Linked DNA regions of Homo sapiens: all the other regions are linked to region 3. The links are contacts of gene promoters, found by promoter capture Hi-C in blood cells and fetal thymus (Javierre and others, 2016). All regions are on one chromosome and are shown on one strand. Each heading gives the region's core, a stretch centred on a gene start or on the middle of the fragment in contact. The rest is flanking DNA. Distances are from core to core; before and after follow the strand shown.

Evidence for each region. The method cuts DNA at HindIII sites, captures the fragments that hold promoters and counts their contacts. A CHiCAGO score of 5 or more calls a contact.
Region 1: a contact is called between the fragment with the promoter of TM2D1 here and the fragment with the promoter of OMA1 in region 3, in 1 of 17 cell types (total B cells). The highest score is 5.1, in total B cells.
Region 2: a contact is called between a fragment that was not itself captured here and the fragment with the promoter of OMA1 in region 3, in 1 of 17 cell types (total B cells). The highest score is 6.5, in total B cells.

The regions. Positions count from the first base shown.
Region 1 is chr1:61,723,891-61,727,725 of GRCh38, forward strand. TM2D1 (TM2 domain containing 1) reads right to left here and starts at 1,251. Exons shown (of 7, transcript NM_032027.3): 1 at 1,067-1,251. The coding sequence starts at 1,230. RefSeq lists enhancers at 553-1,240, 697-1,896, 933-1,592, 1,241-1,926. The HindIII fragment of the contact is 25,050 bases long and covers 1-3,835 here.
Region 2 is chr1:63,523,057-63,526,982 of GRCh38, forward strand. EFCAB7 (EF-hand calcium binding domain 7) reads left to right here and starts at 469. Exons shown (of 14, transcript NM_032437.4): 1 at 469-578; 2 at 2,516-2,703. The coding sequence starts at 2,517. ITGB3BP (integrin subunit beta 3 binding protein) reads right to left here and starts at 169. Exons shown (of 9, transcript NM_014288.5): 1 at 73-169. The coding sequence starts at 77. RefSeq lists enhancers at 1-191, 353-432. The HindIII fragment of the contact is 1,809 bases long and covers 1,005-2,813 here.
Region 3 is chr1:58,545,167-58,549,155 of GRCh38, forward strand. It overlaps OMA1 (OMA1 zinc metallopeptidase), which reads right to left and starts at 1,560. Exons shown (of 9, transcript NM_145243.5): 1 at 1,537-1,560. It also overlaps a transcript of DAB1 not described here. RefSeq lists enhancers at 969-1,595, 1,809-1,998 and silencers at 1,209-1,298, 1,309-1,408. The HindIII fragment of the contact is 5,811 bases long and covers 733-3,989 here.

The DNA.
Region 1 (3,835 bases), core at 1-2,500, 3.2 Mb after region 3:
GAGGCTGCTAGTTTGTCCAAGTCAATAAGCATATGTACAAATATACTTTTAGTATTGCTAAGTAATACTTGAGGCAGGAGGATCACTGGAGCCCAGGAGTTTGGGAAGAACAGCCTGGGCAACATAACGAGAAGTCTGTCTCTACAAATAATATAATAATACATAAACATTACAATAAACCTTTAAATTTGCCCCATAATTATCCACGTTTTTACTCATGAGAAAACAGAGTTCAAATAGGTCACCCAAGGTTGCAAAGTGCAACAGAAATTTATCCACTGAGTCCCCACGCGGTGGTTCATGGTGAGGGGGATGCGGATCGCTTGAGACCAGGAGTTCAAGACCAGCCTGGCCAACATGGCGTAAACCCCGTCTCTACTAAAAATACAAAAATTACCCGGGTGTGGTGGCGCATGCCTGTAGTCCCAGCTACTCAGGAGGCTGAGGCAGGAGAATTGACTGAACCCGGGAGGCGGAGGCTGCAGTGAGCTGAGATCGTGCCACTGTACTCCAGCCAGGGCGACAGAGTAAGACCCTGTCTCAAAAAAAGAAAACAGAAAGAAATTTGTCTGGCAGTCTACCATCTCATGAAGTTTGAAGATGACATGAGGTAATATGCATAATATACATAAAGTTAATGATAAATGGGCAACACATTGGCTAGATCGTTATTACTTGTCTTCCCCCTAGGAAGAGTTGGCAAACATTTCCAGGGTAAGAGACTATCCATCTTTGTATTACTAGTGTCTAGAACGGGGCCTGGCATACTTCAGGATCTACATGTTTTACTGAACAAGTAAGCACACTGATAAAAAAGAAAAAAAAAGTGGATCAGAAGAGGAAGCGCCAATGACTAGTAAAATCATAAGGAAATCACAAAGGGTGGCCTCTGGCCCTCCCATCTCCACAACTCTGTTCACCTTCAGGGATCCTTCAGTCATTAGAAGCCACAGATCAGATTATCGTTTTCACTCAGTACAGCCCTAGCCAGTCCTGACGGCAGCGACCCACCTGCGACCCCAACTCTACCTCGCCTCCATGGGGGGGTGTTCTCCACAGAGGATATTGTCCCACTTTGAGGTCCTCGCACTTAAGCGACTCCTCGCCCCCGGCGGAGGTGGCAACAGCCCCCCAGGGTCCTGTAGTGACTGAGACGAACCACAGGACACCAACGAGTCTGGCCGTCACGGCCTCCGGAGCAGACGGACCAGACGGCCAGGCGGCCGCCATCTTGGAGACCGACACTTTCTCGCCACTTCCGCTTCCGCCTCCGCCCAGGAGCGGGAGGGAGAAGGGCAACAGGGCGAGGTTCTTAAAGGGACCTCGCATAGGATAGAGGCCAGTTCCGTCTCTTCGCGTGTTCTTCTGCCCGTGAGCCCGTGGAATCACATTGGGAGACCCTTTTAAAATATGCATGTACCCAGTCCCTCGAGGCGAATTTTCCCCCACGAACCCTTGGAAGGAGCTAAGGTTAATCTTTGAGTGCTGGAGGAAGGAAACGAGTGGTTTAGGCAATCAGGTGCTTCACCCGCTTCTCATTCCCGCGCCCTTAGCTGAGGCTTCTCGGTCCTCTGAAAGTGCCAGCGGCGTCAGAGGTTGGAATCAATGCTTTCCTGACATCATCGCAGTTAGCCCTGATAGGTTTTGGGTTTACAGATAAGGAACAAGGCTCAAAGACGCTGAAACACACTGACCTTAATCACTAAGTGACTCAGTCGGAATGAAATTGATGTTTGCCAGATTTCAGATCTATGCTCTTACTAATTGACATAATGTCCTCCTGTAACTTTAGAGAAGGATTTTGGAAGGCTGCCACGAACAGAACTTAAAAACTGTGAGAGACATTACGCCTTTTAAAAAAAAAAAGTGACAATTTAGGTGGGGGATAATTTGGGGGGTGGAAACTGTAACAAGAGGAAACCAAATAGTTTATGATTAAGTGAAAAGTTGAAGATTTTTTTTCCTCCATCTGTTGTTTTTAAATTTCTATATGTTCTAAAAGTTCTGTGGTGGGGAACTTTAACAGTGAGGAAAAAATGTTTTCGTAAAGTTAAGTTTAATCTTTTTTTTGTCTAACAATATAAAAATTTGAACTTGAGTGGTGCTTCTTCATCCATACTTTAGCACTAACTTTGGTGGTTCTCAAACTTTGAATAGCATCTGAATCACCTGTAGTAGTTATTAAAACAGAATGATAGAACCGGCACTCAGAGTTTCTGATACAAAAGATGTAGGGAGGGACTGGATAATTTCCATTTCTAGGAGATCCCAAGGGATGTGGGTGTTGCTAGTCCAGGGACCCCCACTTTGAGAACACTGGTATAATGTTTTACGAGAAGTAAATTTTTTTTTTTAAGATGGAATCTCTCTCTGCCACCCAGGCTGGAGTACAGTGGCAGAATCTCAGCTCACTGCAACCTCTGCCTTCTGGTTCAAGTGATTCGCCTGCCTCAACCTCCTGAGTAGCTGGGACTGCACGCGTGCGCCACCACGCTCAGCTAATTTTTGTATTTTTAGTAAAGACAGGGTTTCACCATTTTGGCCAGGCTGGTCTCGAACTCCTGGCCTAAGTGATCTGCCCGCCTCTGCCTCCTAAAGTGCTGGGATTTCAGGTGTGAGGCCACACTGTGCCTGGCCTCATTTTGGAATATATATTCTGGAAGACATACAACTATTTGAAGTAATATTTAAACATAAACTACGTTTTTAAATTTTCTTTTTTTGAGGTGGAGTTTCACTGTTGTTGCCCAGGCTGGACTGCAATGGCATGATCTCGGCTCACTGCAACCTCCGCCTCCCAGGTTCAAGCTATTCTCCTGTCTCAGCATCCGGAAAGGCTGGGATTACGGCGCCCACTACCAGCCCAGCTAATTTTTGTATTTTTAGTAGAGACGAGGTTTCACCATGTTGAGCAGGCTGGTCTCGAACTCATGACTTAAGGTGATCCACCCGCCTCTGCCTCCCAAAGTGCTGGGATTACAGGCGCGAGCCACGGCGCCTGGCCCTAAAATTTTCATAATAAAACAACTTTGTAGCATTACTATGCTTTATTCATTCATTCATTTAGAGACAGAAATGGAGTTGAGACGGGAGTTTTGCTCTTGTTGCCCAGGCTGGAGTGCAATGGCACGATTCTCGCTTACTGCAAACTCCACTTCCCAGGTTCAAGCTATTCTCCTACCTCAGCCTCCTGAGTAGCTGGAATTACAGCCATGAGTCACCACGCCTGGCTAATTTTGTATTTTTAGTAGAGACGGGGTTTCTCCATGTTGATCAGGCTAGTCTCCAACTTCCGACCTCAGGTGATCCACCCGTCTGAGCCTCCCAAAGGTCTGGGATTACAGGCATGAACCACCACGCCCCGCTGCTATTTTTTGAGATGGAGTCTCGCTCTGTCATCCAGGCTGGAGTGCAGTGGCACGATCTTGGCTCACTGCAACCTCTGCCTCCCGGGGTCAAGCAATTCTCCTGCCTCAGCCTCCTGAGTAGCTGGGATTACAGGCGCACGCCACCACGCGCAGCTAATTTTTGTATTTTTTAGTAGAGACAGGATTTCACCATGTTGGTCAGGCTAGTCTCGAACTCCTGACCTCGTGATCCGCCCGCCTTGGCTTCCCAAAGTGCTGGAATACAGGCGTGAGCCACCGCGCCCCGCCGCTATTTTTAATTTAAGACATTTATACATAATATTTATGCTTTAAATCAGGTTTAAATGATTTAAGTGAAAAATTTAGTAGTTCAGTTATAAACTTCCTATTCTAAATGGACTTCTTCCTTCTCTCTTTTTTCTTCCTTCGTTTTTCCTTTCTTTCCTTTTTTTCCGTCCTCCCTCTCC
Region 2 (3,926 bases), core at 659-3,158, 5.0 Mb after region 3:
CTGGGCCACATAATATCTTCTCTTCTTGCAGAGGGCCCCCAAAACAGCAATACCTGGGGAGGAGATACCTACGGCATTCTGAGATTCGGGAAAGCACCACTGCCGCTGAATAAAACGAACCCAGCAACTTCCGAAAACAGAAAATCCGCCAAAGGAAACGCCAAGGCATGAAAAGCGCGCGCTGGACGTTGCGTCAAGCCCACCGCGGCCGGGCGGAAACATCCTCCCCGCGACGAAGGATCCGGGTGTGCGCGAGCAAAGGAGCGAGCGGGGAGTTCTAGGCCCAGGACAGCACCTATTTCCTGCTGGTGTAACAGAGCACCTTCTCTCACTACTCTGGCCATACCACCCCCGCGATAGAGGAGCAACACAGCTGTCTCTGTGCGCTCCGGATCAGCGCTTCCTAGATTTCTAGCCGGATCGTTTGGAGAAGGGCTCTGCATCTTATTTCCGGTGGCGGTGAGGTGCAGTTGCCATGGTGATTAGAGAAAGGCCGAGATCTGTCCAGCTGCGGTGAGAGGAACGCTGAATCGCCGAAGAGAATTGGCTGCGCTTCCTTGTTTGTGAGCTAGAATTAGGTAGCAAACAGCTCGCTGTCTCTGTCTCTTCGCTCCCTCTGTCCCTCTCTGTGCAGCTGCTTCTCCTTCCTCTGCTTTGTCTACTTCTCTGTCATAAACATTTGGTCCATGTATGTACCTAAAATGTACATGTAAATGCGGTTTTATTTCCAGAGGAATACAAAAATAGAGAGATGGTGCCCGAGATTACCTGTGACGGTATTTCACTGTGTAGGGACGGTGACTGGACGGCTTTCTGTTTTCACTTGGCCCTGTAGAAGCCTTAGGCGCTTGTTAACAGTTTATTTTTCTTGCTATTGTGTGGCTGGTTATTTATGGAGCCGTTTGCTGCAATGTACTCTCTAGGCCCCTGTCTCAGTCTCGGGCCGGAGTTTTAAGTAAGGGAGGTTTCCAAGCCTGCGGGGGGTGCAATTATATGTTTATTTAAGCTTTAGTTTGGTTTCTCGTCACAGAAAGGAAAAGAATAAAATTCTGGCACATTTCTGCCTTGGGATTTCCATGTGAGGGAGTTGCCTTGTTTGGAAAGAATATTTGAGGACGATCCTAAAATATACTTATATTTTAAAATTGCTTATTGCAAAGTGAAATTCATTCTCCCTTACTTCTTGAAACAGTTTTCTTTCACATTTGTGAGGAGATGCATGCACACATATGTGTTTAGAACTCTGATGCTTAATTATAGTATTACCAATTTGCAGTAACCAGACTGTGACACCACATCCCTGTGGGGTCCTTCTAAATCTGGTGTAATATGAAAGTGTCAGGCAGGCGGCCTGCGTATTATAAATAGGGTACTTCATCCATGATAAGCAATTATTATCTTTCTTTCCCAAGTGTAAATGATCTATATAATTCGAAAAGGTGCAAGTGATTTAGGCCTCCTGAGTAGGAATGCAATGAGTCCTGAAGGGGACCCTACCTGTGTTATCTTATTATTGAACTTGAAATATTCAATTTATTAGGTTGGAGATCTATTTTTAGAAGTCAAAGCTGGGTAGAGTAATATTGGAAGCTGTTAGACCACCAGTAGAATCTAATACCCCATAGTAACCATTGTTCAGTACTATATCCACATTAACAAAGAAGAAACTGTTCGTGAAATTTACGGCTTTTTGCCACTTACTGCTAGCTGGGTGACATTGCTACCCCTCAATTTCCTCATCTGTAAAACGGACAAAAAAATACCTGACCGCTGTAATAGGGATAAGACAAGATGTATGACAGTTCTTTAAGCTCTTATGTACAGAGGTGCTATACAAACCCCAAATATTGTTATTAATAAAGGAACACAGTAAAACTATGATAATGCTATAAATAAGACTTTTAAAATATAGCTATTTGAAATGTGGGGCTGCATTATTGAGATGTTAATGAAATGATCTTGTTGATCCTGCTGTGGAAGATGGGTGTCAACTACCACTCATATCCCGATTCTCATTATTCTGGAGTTTCTCATTATCTGCAGTTTATTTAGCACTTACTACGTGTCAAGCAATATTGTATATGCTTCACATGTATTAACTGATTTGCTCCTCTTAAAAACCTGATGAAGACTGTCATCTGACTTTCGTATTTTGAGAGAATAGATGTGTGCTCTTCCTTTGTTCAGTGATTCTTCTCTTGTGTATATCTTTGTTCTTTTGGCTATTATCACATATTTGAACAATTATATATATACATATGTATATATCTAAAATTAGAAATTAACTGCCAAAGGCTTATTCTTGTTTAATATATAATACGTCCATATACAACTATAGTATTCGTCTTTTACTTCCACATATAAAACTTTTAATATCTTGATCTTTTCATATATGTTATAAATTTTCTTCTATGTATAAAATCTTGATTCTCCTCCCTGTATTTGAAAGACATGGTGACATTTGTGTTTTAGTGACTCACATTGACAAACACATTTTTAAATTATTTTCCAATAGAATGGCGATCAGTCCACGAAGCGATGCAACTTTCTCCAGTCAGAAATCAACACCTTCAGAGAGTCCTCGAACAAAGAAATTTCCACTAACTGAAGAGGAAATATTTTATATGAATTGTAGAGCTGCCTACTTAACTGTCTTCAAAAGCAGCTTGGAAAACATTATTTCTAAAGATCAACTTTACTTAGGTAAATTTTTAAAATTTTTAAATCTTTCACCTTTTTGTTGAAAGTTAATAAATAGGTCCGAAAGACTGAAATTAGAATTACCTTGTTGAATCATCCCAGTTTCTTAGTGAAGCTTGAGCAATGGAACTACAGTAAGCTATTATGTCATATCATATAGTTACATATTCTAGGAACTACAAAATAAAACTTTCAATGTTTATACAAACTAGATGGGTAATTGAAAGCTTCTATCAATTACTACTTGCTTAAGATACTTTTAATTCTCATTTTGGTGCTTTAAGATTTATCATAATAAAATTAAAACGCTTTTGGCCTCTTAAGTCACTAGCCTGAATTTGACCCATACTGAGGAAAGTGTAAAGGATGTGTAAAAATGGGTGGAATGTCTGAAAAAGTGAAGTACTGAGAGATAAGTGAACTTTTAAAAGAGAATTGAGTTGGGGTTTTTTTATTTCTTATTTTTATTTTTTGTTTTGTCTTTTATTGCTTCTGTCCTTTATCACATTTAAAAATTCCTCTCATTACAAAGGTCCCCAAAACCACCAAATTTGGTTCTTTCCAGGAGTATCAAATGATTTGGACATCTTTAGTCATGAGAGAGTAGTAAACAACAGTACTAGATAACACTGACTACTCATGTCAGTTTCATCAAGGCTAATAACTTTATGGGTAGAGAAACTGAGTTATTTTGCCAATTTTATAATGAATTTTCTTAAACCAAAACCCTGACATATTTGTGCAGCAGTGTCTTGAGTTTGTATCCAATAAGATCTATTTGAGGAAATGTATTTTGAGGAATACAAGAATTGACAAGATTAAAATTTATTTGATGTCTAAATAAAATACATTATTTGTAAAGTAGTTTAAATGCAAATGCACATGACTGACTTTTAAAGTCATGTTTAATTTTGATTTACATAATTTTAAAATTACTAAAATGCTCTATTTTGAATTTTAAGTATTTGTGTTTAATTCATATACATTAAATGTTTAGGCAGACATCCAATAAATTTTTTTTTTTTTGAGACGGAGTCTTGCTCTGTCTTCCAGGCTGGAGTGCAGTGGCGCGATCTTGATTCACTGCAGCCTCTGCCTCCTGGGTTCCAGCGATTCTCCTGCCTCAGCCTCCTGGGTAGCTGAGATTACAGTTGCACGCCACCATGCCTGGCTAATTTTTGTATTTTTAGTAGAGACGGGGTTTTGCCATGTTGGCCAGGCTGGTC
Region 3 (3,989 bases), core at 310-2,809:
CCCACAGAAAAAGAAAGCTCTCATCTCTATGTCTATGCACATCTATTCACACTGCTTAGCTCTGCACATGACAAGCAAACTCCTTCTCATTTCTCATGACTTGTGTAAAAATTTTAAAAGAATCCTATTGACACAGAAGGTATAAGCAAAAGCCCCAACACTACGCATATATAATTAAAACCATTATCATTTCTATCACTGACAACCAAGTGTCGTTTTGAATAGAAACAGTGCCTGATATTTTGTAATACCCGGTTTATCCTGAAGAAAGGGTAAAGAATGAGGGAAGAAATCTATTCATGCATTTTCAAGGAGCCAATCACTAGACTACAGAGCACATAAGAAAAAAAAAAATCAGGGCTGACATATTCTCTTCAAAGAGCTGTGGCAGGTCAACAAACATAGCTGGCAGACTTCTAGGATAACAAAATTAATGATGTGAGAAAATTAAACAATTTGGATTGTTAGCCTCTACGAACATTTCAGATCCTTAATTCTTTAAGTACCATCTCCGAATGAGCAAGTGCAGCACTCACTGGCACTCACAGCTGAAGCCTGGAAGACAGTTTTAACAACTCTTGCTGAAAATGACTATTTCTTCTCTAGTTTCTATGGAAACAGCTGTCAGATTGGCAAAAATAGGACATGTACTTTAAAATAATCATTCAAGCAAAGTACACACATGATGGAAGGCTTTAAAAAAGAATTGGACGGCAGCAGACTTGGTTCTTAAGCTTCCAAATGTCAGACTACACCCCTTCACCCCGGCTGAGAATGACGGAGATGAACCTAAATCCTTTTAGCGAGGGTTGCACGACCTTGATCAACGCCTGAATGCCAAATAAGGGATTTTCATCTCCCTGGACTACAATTTCTTGTTGAGGATTGCACGGCACAATAAAACTGTTGCTCCACACACAGGCGACATTTAAACAGTATACAGTGAGTTCTGTAGACGAGTTTACGAGGAAATTGTTAAAACTCCCCGGAACTGCTTAGACGGGGAATGTTCTGGTTTGCCCTGCCGAGTTTAGGCTGGAAAACGTGTTCAGTTTCTCCTGAAGAGGGAAGGGGTGAAAGAGACGAATGCCCGACGCGCCGGGAGGCGGTCCCCTCTGGCAGAGGTGCCGGGTGAGGAGCCCGAAGCCCCGCGGGTGAGAAACCCTGCTCTGAAAGCGGAGCCGCGGATAAGGGCGGGCTGAGGGGGAGGGCAGGCGGCCCACGAAAGTACTGCCACGGGGCAGACACACGGGGTCACCGGCGTGCCCCGGGCAAGGCTAGGGGAGAACCGGGCTCCCCCAGGACAGATCCCCTCCGTCTCCCGCCCCGGCGCCCCCCGCCCCTCCCCTCCACGCAGCCTTATCGCCCACCCACGCCTCCTCCCGTACCCCCATCCCCAAGGATCCCCACTCCTTGCCCGGGCGCCCCCGCAGGCGCTCTGCGCTCCGCCCCCTCCCCACTGCCGCACTCTGCCTCCTCCCCTGGGCACGATCCTACTCGGAAAAGCTGGGGAAAAGCGTCACCGTGAGGACTGACTCAAGCAGAAGCGAAAGCGGTGACACCGCAGACCCGACCTATGCGCAGGCGCGCACCCGCACTTCCTGCCCGCCATACCGGCCGGGGCGCCCTTCGCTCCGCCCACACCCGGCAGTCAATACAGCCGCCCAGAGTCGTTCTCCCAGCTGCCCCGGGCCCCGCGGAGACTGTGGCGCTCTAGCGCCTCCGTGTGGCTTAAGGCGGGACATGGCCCTGGGCTGGGCTGCTTGCCTAGGAACAACTTTCTCCCGTCTTTGGTGAGTTGGGTCCTCTAAAGAATGATCCACGCAAGGCTGTGTCCGTTGTAGTCTCTACGGCAGTACCGGCCAAAAGGGAAGAGACTCGAAGACTGCCAAAAGACGAAGGCTTCCTGGTTCTGAATCTGCATTCATAGAAATAGTCTTTGGAGTATGGGAACAGTGCTTTCATATGATTTTTGGAGGGACGCATTTTAAGAAAGATGAAGTATAATCTTAAGTGTCTGGAGGTTAAAGTAGCTGGCTCCAAAATTATGTGTATAGTATGTTTCATTCATTTCACCAAAACATATTTCTTGAGCATCAACTACATTTTAAGTGCCAAGGATGTAGCAGTGAACAAGACAGACCTGAATTTCGTGAACTTTATATCACAGTGAGGAAAGACAGGCGATTAAAAAAAAGTGTACAAATAAACACAAATAAATAAAAGTGTACAAATAAGCCAGTACAAATAAACACTGGATTGTGATGGATGAGTAGTGAGGTCTCATATTAGTTTATTATGTTTACACTCTGTGCACAATGAAAACATCTCAAAGGACATAAACACTATGTCAAAGGACATAAACACTATGAACAATTTTAGGTATCTCTTTTGGAAAATGTGTAAGTTACTGTTTCGTTTATCTTATGTGTATTTTATGATTTGCCTTTTACTTTGAAAGGGATATCCTGGAAAACCCCTGACAACTGGACCCCTAAAAACTGAAGTAGGAGGTCCTTCAGTCTTCGTAGGGTTTATCTCCCAAACTCTGGAGTGCACATGTCTTACCAAAGTTTCCAGCATGCTAGCCACCTCTTGCTCATCTTGCCTGGTTAGCATAATGTCATTGGTGAAATAGATGGGTGTGATGTTCTCTGGAATTTCCAGTTGATCCAGCTCCTTTTGGACTGCGCAGAGCCATTATGTCATTATCCTGGGTCCACCTGATTTCCAAAGGGGCCAGACTGGCAAGTTAAGTAGAGATATGGCAGGGATGACCAACCACTCTTGTATATTTCAGGTCTTTAATTATGACATTAATCTCCACCATCATCTCACTATCCCCTCAGATGAAATATCGGTTTTGATTTATTATCTTCACTTGGAAAGAAGGACAGCTTCAGAGGCTTCCCATTGGCTTTCCCCACCATGATAACTCAAGACCAAGGACCCTGAGCTTCTTACCAATGTGGAGATTGCTCCAGCTGCCCAATATGTACTCCCAATTATGCACTCAGGAACTAAGAAAATGACTACTGGATGGGTCAGTGTATTCCTGGACCCACTGTAAGCTGGACATTATCCAGGACTCTGCTTATTACCTGATCCCCATAAGCCCCCACACTTAGAGAGGAGCCATGTGTGTTACATACTTTGGGTAACACCTGTGAAATGTCTGGGTATTCCTCTTTCCTCAACATAAAATCAGTCAAGAAAATGGCCGTGGGACACAGACCAAAGAGTAATCATTAATTACAGTAAATATTTGTTTCAGTATTGCAGGATTCTTCTTTATAGGGACCCAACAACCTCTTAAGTCAACAGATTCTGTGGTCTCAGTGTGAAGATAGGCTCAGGTCTGAGACTTGAGCAATGAGCAGTGCCTTTTATTAAGCAACTACTCCCTGCATAGGATAAATAGCTTCTTGTCTTCCTCCAGTTGTAGATGTTAGGCAACACTCTTGTTGGCTGCCCGTCTGTTTTTCCCCTAGGGAGACCTTATGCTATTAAAGCCCTCCACAACCTCCTGTGGATCAAGCCCCCTTGGCTGCTCCTCTGCCCTTGGCAGATGTTACAGTAATTACATCTTCTGGTGTCCTCATGGTTAAAGCCACCACCTGGCTTCTACTACTTCAGGATCCTGTTATCCCAATGGATATTATCAAGCCCAGCCCTGTGATTGCCTCTCCTACCGTCAGCCCTTCCCTCCAGAGGAGAGCCTTCTCTGAACTTCTTAGTGATGCTAGTGCCCCTCACGCCAGTGCATTCCCCATGGCCATAGAATATGATGCATCCTCTGGGCCTCCCATGGAACATTCCCCTCTGTCTGCCTTCGGGCTCTACACACAAAAAAAATTCTTTCAGGCAAGTCCACTTCCCTCAGCTCCTCTGTCCTTCTACCATTTGCAAGGGCAATTCGGGCATTCCTGCTTTACTCTGCATGCACTATGGCTTTCTCTCAGCTTCTAATAGTCACCTAGCAGTGAGTT